Linked DNA regions of Homo sapiens: all the other regions are linked to region 3. Evidence: promoter capture Hi-C in human tissues and cell types (Jung and others, 2019). All regions are on one chromosome and are shown on one strand. Each heading gives the region's core, a stretch centred on a gene start or on the middle of the fragment in contact. The rest is flanking DNA. Distances are from core to core; before and after follow the strand shown.

What was found. Contacts are between HindIII fragments. The study calls those that stand out against the background at their distance.
Region 1: the fragment with the promoter of PRSS27 here is called in contact with the fragment with the promoter of CASKIN1 in region 3 in 1 of the 25 tissues and cell types used here (lymphoblastoid cells).
Region 2: the fragment with the promoter of PRSS33 here is called in contact with the fragment with the promoter of CASKIN1 in region 3 in 1 of the 25 tissues and cell types used here (thymus).

The regions. Positions count from the first base shown.
Region 1 is chr16:2,718,974-2,721,673 of GRCh38, reverse strand. PRSS27 (serine protease 27) reads left to right here and starts at 1,450. Exons shown (of 6, transcript NM_031948.5): 1 at 1,450-1,559. The coding sequence starts at 1,514. RefSeq lists a silencer at 120-879 and an enhancer at 613-1,180. The HindIII fragment of the contact is 19,281 bases long and covers 1-2,700 here.
Region 2 is chr16:2,786,252-2,788,951 of GRCh38, reverse strand. PRSS33 (serine protease 33) reads left to right here and starts at 1,392. Exons shown (of 7, transcript NM_152891.3): 1 at 1,392-1,419; 2 at 2,348-2,450. The coding sequence starts at 2,405. The HindIII fragment of the contact is 27,852 bases long and covers 1-2,700 here.
Region 3 is chr16:2,195,263-2,198,159 of GRCh38, reverse strand. It overlaps CASKIN1 (CASK interacting protein 1), which reads left to right and starts at 1,555. Exons shown (of 20, transcript NM_020764.4): 1 at 1,555-1,821. The coding sequence starts at 1,728. The HindIII fragment of the contact is 36,898 bases long and covers 1-2,897 here.

The DNA.
Region 1 (2,700 bases), core at 201-2,700, 520 kb before region 3:
CTGAATGAATAAATCAATACATGAATGAATACGTTTGGAGTCCCCTCTTCCCACTCCTCGCCCTCCCTCCTTCCCTCCAGACCCCCAGGGGCTGCCCAGCCCGCCTCCCACCCCCGACCCGGGAACTCCAGGGACTGGACGGGGAGGGAAGGGTGGGAGGAGGCGGTGGAGGCGGAGGCGGAGACGCGGGAGGGCGGGGCTAGGGAGGGCGATGCGGGGAGCCGGAGCCCGGACCATGAGGCTGGGAGCGCCCCTTCTGCACCCCTGGCCGCCCGCGCCGCGCCCCGCGCCCACCAGAGGGCAGCACCACGACGCGCGCGGACAAGGCTGAGGCGGGAACGGCCGCACCCCCAGCCCCGCCCGGAGCCGCCCGGCCCCGCCCCGCCCGCGAGTACCGACCCCCGGCGCCGGCGGGGAAACAGGTCCGGCGCCCCCGACCCCACGGCCCGGCCCCACTCTGTCTCTGACGTCAGCGCCGTGCCCCAAATAACTTCCTCCCCGAGCCTCTTCCGCCGCGGCGCCGCGCCCAGAGCCAGGCGGGGACACCGAAACGGTAACCCCGGCCCGGCCTTCCCGGAGCCGCTTCCGCCCCGCCTGGTGCCAGGAAGCCCCCGCCCCTTCCAAGGGATGGCAGCCGGGGCCCGGGTCGGCCGCCTGGGCCGCGCTGGCGCGCGCCTGAGGAACTTCTGGGGCCTGCTGTCCCGGGAGGAGGGTCGCTGCGGCCAACTCCGGACCCCGCCCCATGTCCCATCGCCTCCCCTGCCCTCGGCCCCGCAAACACCCCTGGCCTTGACTTTCCCACCAGCGCGGCCCAGCCCCACTGTGTTCCATCGGCGCTCAATAAAATACTGAATGAGGCCGGGCGCGGTGGCTCACCCCTGTAATCCCAGCGCTTTGGGAGGCCGAGGAGGGCGGATCACGAGGTCAGGAGATCGAGACTAGCCTGGCCAACACGGTTAAACCCCGTCTCTACTAAAAATACAAAAAATTAGCCGGGCGTGGTGGCACCTGCCTGTAATCCCAGCTACTCAGGAGGCTGAGGCAGGAGAATGGCTTGAACCTGGGAGACGGAGCTTGCAGTGAGCCGAGATTGCGCTCCAGCCTGGGCGACAGAGCGAGACTCTGTCTCAAAAAATTAAAAAAAATAATAATAATAATAATGAATGAAGCTGGACGGACTTCGCGTGCACCGCGGTCAGCTCGGGGTCTGCTGGGGGGTCTGGGTCAGCTCAGGGTCCAGGAACCGAGGCCAACGGCACCCCGTGCTGCGCTGGGGTGAGGGGTCTGCCCTGGGGTCTCGGGGTTCAGGGCTAGGTCACGGAGGAGTCGGCTCTGGGCGCTTCCTTCCTGAGGAGAGGAGCTGGGCAGGCCGGGCCGACGGGTTGGGCCGCATAGCCGGGCCTGTGCTCATCTCCAGCATAAAACTCCACTTCATGGAGCCTGCACCTCGCTCGTGCTCCAACGCTTCTGCCACCGCCGACCACGGCCCTGCGCCCCAGCCAGGCCTGAGGACATGAGGCGGCCGGCGGCGGTGCCGCTCCTGCTGCTGCTGTGTTTTGGTGAGTCGTGAAGGTGCAGGGTCCTGGTGGTGCAGTCCCCCACCAGGCTCCGCTGCACTGCCTGGGGCTCCGGCTCAGCCCCCTACTCCCTGGGACAGGCTGGGGCTGTGGGACAGGCCATCATCCCTCCTGCCCCTGAGCAGGTGGGAAGGCTCCAGATGTGCCAAGTGGGGAGTCCAAAGTGGGGAGGCAGGGTGGGAGGTGTGCGCACAGGCCCCAGAGGACCCCACCGGCATAACTGGGCAGCACCTCCTCCCATGCCTCTCCGCGGGCACTGGTGTGCCAGCTCTGGCCAGGCTCCCTGCTTCCTGCCACCTCGGCCTCTCCCCCCATTCTCTAGGTGAGGACAGGGGCCTCCTACGTGCAGGATGTGAACTCAGGCTCCAAGTGCCTGGACCATCATACTCGGGGTGGGAGGGTGGCCGAGCCGAGGGCTGCTGCCTGTGCCCGGAAGCCCCAGCAGGCTGGCTGCAGGCTCAGTAGAGAGCTGGGGGCAGGGGGTGTAGGTGGCAGAGGGCCCTGTCTCCTGCTGACAGAGGAACCGGTGATGCGCCACCGTGCCCTCTCCCAGTCCTGGGTCAGGGACAGCAGGTGCCAGCCAGGGGGCCCCACCTGCCAGGCCCCTCCCTGCGGGCCGGGACACTCTCTGTCAGGGAAAACCTCTCACATTCCTGGGCTAGCCTAGCCAGTCTGGCAGCCACCACACTTCCCTGTCCTCAAGTCACCTCCCAGGGCTGGGTCAGGTCATCCCAGGCTGCAGCTTAGCCAGTACTCCAGGCTTCCTTGTTCTCCTGGGTGGGAGGGCACCAGTGGCCCCTCAGTGGCCCGGCCTCCCCCACCCCATGCCCCCAGTCTCCCAGCACAAGGATGGTGCCCTCTGAGCAAGCCATGTGCACAGGAGGTGGAAGGCTGTGACTGCCCCTGAGCGGGGTGAGGAACCAAGGTCATTGCCAAAACTCTTTGGCAATGAGTTTTGCAGTCGGTTCACTAACAGCTGTGACCAGAGGCTGGACTCCTGGACACGTCCTCACTCCCAGCCCGAGGGTGGCACTCCCACCAGGTCTCTGGCTGGTGGTACCCACTAAGCTTCACCATCCCCACCAGCTACCAGCGAATCACAGGCCCAGGCCCCAAACAATGC
Region 2 (2,700 bases), core at 143-2,642, 590 kb before region 3:
AGACTACAGCAAGAGGATCTCTTGAGCCCAGGAGTTCGAGAACAAGTTGGGCATCATTGCAAGACCCCATCTCTGGAAAAAAAAATTGCTAGGTGCTGTGGCATGCACCTGTGGTCCCAACTACTTGGGAAGCTGAGGTGGCAGGATCACTTGAGCCCAGAGGTCAAGGACGCAGGGAGTTGTGATTGTACCACTGCACTCCAGCCTGGGTGACAGAGCAAGACCCTGTCTCTCTCTCCCTTTTTATTTTTTTTTGAGACAGAATCTCACTGCGTCGCCCAGGCTGGAGTGCAGTGGCATAATCTCGGCTCACTGCAACTTCCACCTCCCGGGTTCAAGCAATTCCTGTGCCTCAGCCTCCCGAGTAGCTGAGATTGCAGGCGCCCACCATCAGGCCTGGCTAATTTTTGTATTTTTAGTAGAGACGAGGTTTCACCATGTTGGCCAGGCTCGTCTCAAACCCCTGACCTCAAATGAGCCACCCATCTCGGCTTCCCAAAATGCAGGGATTACAGGCATGAGCCACCATGCTTGGCCAAGACCCTGTCTCTTTAAAAAAAAAAAGAAAGAAAAACAAAAAAAAAAAAAAGGAAAAAAGTACAACTATGGCAGGGCTGCAAAGGAGGCAGGAGGAGGTGGCAGAGCAGAAGGCTGAGGGATAAGAGGAGTTCACTATGCAGAGAGGGACTTGAGAGACTTCTAGGCAGCGAACACTGTGTATGAGCCCAAGAGGGAACTACAGGGCCCTGGACCATCCGGGCCCCGGTCCTCCACGGGCCTCGAGAGAAGGGGAGTTCCTGTCCCCTGACCCCAGCATCTTGCTCTGTCTCGGCCACCCCAAACCAAAGACTGCACTGGTCCCCAAGGTCAAGTCTCCCCCTGCCTCTGGTCAAGTAAGGAGTGCCACCAACTTTGAACCAGTCCCTTTCCACCTCCAGCTGCTCCAGACCCCGGATCTGGAAGGGGGCTGGCCATGCTGGGGTCTCTGGGTGGAGCTGTCTGGCCAGGACTTCCGTCTGAGATGGGATTTCTGGACAGAACAATGGAGCGCAGAAGCTCCAGCAACGTGTGCTCTGCAGGGAGCCCAGGTCAGGTTTGGAGAGGAGTTGCCCCGGATCCTGCAGAGCTTCCCCACCTGACTGCCACCCCTCCCAGCACCTACCCGCACCACTGCTCTCCGCCAGCCCCCACTTCTAGTACCTTGGCGCAAGGCAGGCTTCCTTTGAGAAACCCATTGACCCTTTCCTGCCACCTCTGAAGCTCTGCTCAAAGCATCTTTGTTTGAGGCTGGTCCGGTAAAGCCACAGCCCCGCCCCGGCCCTGTTCATTACTCCTTGGCTGAGCCTCGCGCTCTCCTGGCACTTTAAGCCCCCAGGCCCTCCCTCAACCCCAGTCAGCAGAAGGCGCCAGGCTGTGAGGGTGAGAGCAAGCCAGGGGCTGTGGGGGCTGCAGGGGCAGCCAGTGGGTGAGGATGAGGGTGAGGACGAGGAGGGGTGAAGGATGGGGGAGGGGGTGAGGATGAGGGAAGTGGTGAAGATGAGGGAGGGGAGTGAGGAGGAAGGGGGTGAGGATAGAGGAGGGGGTGAGGATGAGGGAGGGGGTGACGATGGGGGGGTGAAGGATGGAGGAGGGGTGATGAGAGAGGAGTGAGGATGAGGGAGGGGGTGAAGGATGAGGGAGGGGGTGAGGATGAGACAGGGGTGAGGATGAGGGAGGGGGTGAGGATGAGGGAGGGGAGTGAGGAGGAGGGGGCTGAGGATGGAGGAGGGGGTGAGGATAGAGGAGGGGTGAGGATGAGGGAGGGGTGAGGATGAGAGAGGGGTGAGGATGAGAGGTGAGGATGAGGGAGGGGGTGAGGATGAGGGAGGGGAGTGAGGAGGAGCAGGGGTGACGATGGAGGACGGGGTGAGGATAGAGGAGGAGGTGAGGATGAGGGAGGGGGTGAGGATGAGAGAGGGATGAGGATGAGGGAAGGGGTGAGGATAAGGGAGGGGAGTGAGGAGGAGGGGGGTGAGGATGGAGGAGGGAGTGAGGATGAGGGAGGGGGTGAGGATGAGGGAGGGGGTGAGGATGGGGGAGGGGGATGAGGGAGGGAGTGAGGATGACCGAGGGGGGTTAGGCTCCAGGGCTTCTGTCGAGACCAAGGATGCCCAAATATCTGGGTGGTGGGTGCTGCATACCTGGGCCCTGGGCAGAACGAAGGGTATACAGCCTGGGCCACCAGGATAAGTCCAGAACCCACCAGGAGCTGAGGACAGACAGAAGGACCACGGAGGGGGTGACGGGCTGGTGTGAGGATTGGTGCCCCTGGGCCAGGACTCTCCTCTCTTCTCCCTGCTGGCTCCAGACCAGAGTCCAAGCCCTAGGCAGTGCCACCCTTACCCAGCCCAGCCTTGAAGACAGAATGAGAGGGGTTTCCTGTCTCCAGGTCCTGCTCCTTCTGGTGCTGGGTGAGTGGGGACAGGGACTGGGGGTGAGGGCCGCAGACACCTTGGCTCCCAGTTCTCCCATCTCACTGCTCCCTGGGCCGGGCTCCCTGGAGCACTCTTGGGCTTTCTAATCTTGATTCCAAGGGCTCAATCCTCTCTGCCACTGACCTTGACCTCACCACACCTCGATGTGCTTGTCGGTGTCATGCTCATACGCCCTTGCCCCCTGCACCTTCACAGTGCTCTGGGGAGGGTTAAATAAGATAACAGA
Region 3 (2,897 bases), core at 306-2,805:
GATGGCGTCACTGCACCCCAGCCTGGACGACAGAGCGAGACCCTGTCTCAGAAAAAAGAATGACAAAGTGACCAGCTCATGGTCACAAACCACTAAGAGGGGGAATAGGACACATCCAGAGGTGCGGGTGCAAAGCCCAGACTTACAACCTCAAGACTCTGGGACCCCAGGTGAGCCCCTTGGCTTCTCTGAGCCTCAGTTTCTTCATCTGTAAAATGGGGACAGTGAGTCCAACCTCATCTAGGAGGTGACCAGCACAGTGCCTGACCCAGCGGGTACTCAACTGGTCATTGGAAAGGGCAAGAGGAAAGGCCCTAGCATTTGGGGACCCCTCCCAGGAGTGCTGGAAGACCAAGGGCTGCTACCTGAACCTAACAGGAGACCCCACGGAGGGAACGGGAACGGCCAGCTGCCCACAGGATGCCGGGACCCCGGTGCCTGTCACCTTCCCTGTCCCTGCTGTCTGACCTCCTCTGTCCCCCTGGACCTGCTCAATGGTCTGGGGCCACACAGAGTGGGGTGCCAGGCCATGCCTCATAGAATGGGTGCGACCCTCCCCAAATTCTCCAAACGGCCTTGCCCGCTTGGGTGATGAGGGAAACGGAGCCTGAGTCGGGACTCAGACCCCCACTGATCTGCCTCTAGAATGCTGCAGGCCTGACGGGAGAGGGCCTGAGGCGCAGGGTGGCCCAAGCCTTCAGCCAGGAGCTCAGAGGGTCACAAGTCGGGGCCTCCAGCACCCAGGAAGCAGGACTCGCCTGCCTGGGCTGCAGGCTGGAGAGTGGGCAGACGTGGGCCGGGGGTCGGTTGGTGCCGGCGGGAGGTTCCAGCCCCTGTGGATGGAGATGGAGGCGACCCCCAGTCGGTGCGGGGAGTGGGGAGTTGAGCTCCCTCAGTGGGGGTGGTGGGGGCTACCTTGGGGTCAGGCTTCGGACTGAGGCTGGGGGAAGCTGTGGCGCCCGCATTATTTGCGGAGAGGAGCAGGAGGATGCTTGGGGGTTGGGGGTGCGGGTTCCCTGACACCGAATTCATTATTGGGAGATTCCTCTTCACAATCCCTCGACACCTCCCACGGGAACCCTGGGCCAGGAACGCCTGACAGCCTGGCGGGCCGGCTCCAGGGGCACTGGCGCCCGGGTCTCTCGGCGCCCGGTCCCCGCCCGCCCGCTGCCTCGGAACCGTCCCCCGCGGGTCCCGCAGCCTCTGGAAGCCTCTCTGGGCTCAGCCCCGCGCCGCCGCCGCGTCGGGGCTCCCAGTGCACCCCCGGCGGCCGCGTCCCCAGCCCGGCTAGCAGCCCCAGGCCGCCCGCGTCCGCAGAGGCCTGGCCTGAGCGCGCTGCGCGCACGTGGGGAGGGGGCGTCCCGGGGCGGGCGCGGGGAGGGCGGAGCCACGGGCCCGGGCGCGCGGCCGGCGCGGGCTGACGGAGGTCGGCGGCCCGGGAGCGGACCCCGGCGTCCGGGAGGCGGCGCCAGGTGCCGCGCCCCCGCCCCGCGCCCGCCGCGCGCCCCCGCCCCCGGGCCGCCCCCCGCCCGTGACGCGCTCCCCGCCCCCTCCGCGCCGGGAGCCCGAGCCCAAGCCGGAGCCCGAGGAGGGCGAAGGGGCGGCGGGCGGCGAGGAGGCGGCGGGGGAGGCGGCGGGGGAGGCGGCCGGTGCCGCGGGGCCGCCGCCGCCTCTGAGCCGCGCCGAGCTCACGAGCGCAGCCGCGTCGCTGCGGCCCCGGCCGCGCCATGGGGAAGGAGCAGGAGCTGGTGCAGGCGGTGAAGGCGGAGGACGTAGGGACCGCGCAGAGGCTGCTGCAGAGGCCGCGGCCCGGGAAGGCCAGTGAGTGCCGGGGGCGCGGGGCGCGGGTGGGAGCCCCGGGGGCCCCTCCCCGGCGCGGAGCCCCCCACCCGGCGCCGGGCGGGGAGGGGACGTTGTCGGGTCCCCGGGGGCGGGGCGGGGCCAGCAGCGCCCAGACCCTTGGTCCGTGCCCTCCACCCGCTGCCCCCAGCACTGGAGATGGGGCGGCCCCGAGAGCCGGCCGCCACCGTGAGCCCCGCAGCGGGCACCTGGCGGCACCCGCCTCCCGGGCCGCGGGCGTTCGCATCCCTCTCTCTCTACCTCTGTCCCCCTCCCTTCCCAGGCTGCGGGCTGACAGCTGGAGGTCTCTGCTGGGGCCTTCAAAGGGCGAGGCGGATGCCCCCCCCACCCACCACACGCACCGGGAAGACAGGGAGGGGGCCCCTGCGGCGAGGGGCGACCCGGGAGGTGACAGTCCCTAGCAGACCCCCTCCCGCCCCACGTTTAATAACACGCTTTGCAGGGAAGGTGGGGGCAGGACCACGCTGGGGGTGTGGCTGCCCTGGCATGGCCGGTGGGGTGCCATTTACTGATGGGAGAGCAGAGGCCCAAGGTCGCCCAGCCCAGGGCAGGCTGGACTCCAGGCAGGGCCGGCCTGGGCGCAAGGGCTTGGGGCCCTGCTCAGGCAGGCTCCAGCAGAGCCGGGTCTCCAGCTTCCCTGCTGGGAAAGGAGGCCATGAGGGAGTGGGGGACCACCACTGGCCATCCCCAGCTTGCCCTATGGCCGGCCCCAGGAAAGGGCTGGGAGCTTGGAGCCCTGGTCCCAGCACTCATCCTGGCTCAGCGCGTAGCCTCCCTGGGGGCCGCCGGAGATGGATGGATGGGCGTGTGGACCAGCCGCGTGTGCGGCTGCGCACGTATAGCCGTGTCAGTGTGTCAGGGCACCTGTGCGGGCACGGACAGGGCTCTGCAGGTCGGCACGTGGGGTCTGGGCGTCCTCCCTCCTCCCTCCACCCCCACAGACTGTAAGCCAGAGAGTCCCCCTCCCCTTCCTCCAGGGGGATGCCGAGAACTGGGACTGGCTTCTGGGAGATTGTTGGGGGCACCTAGGAGTCCCA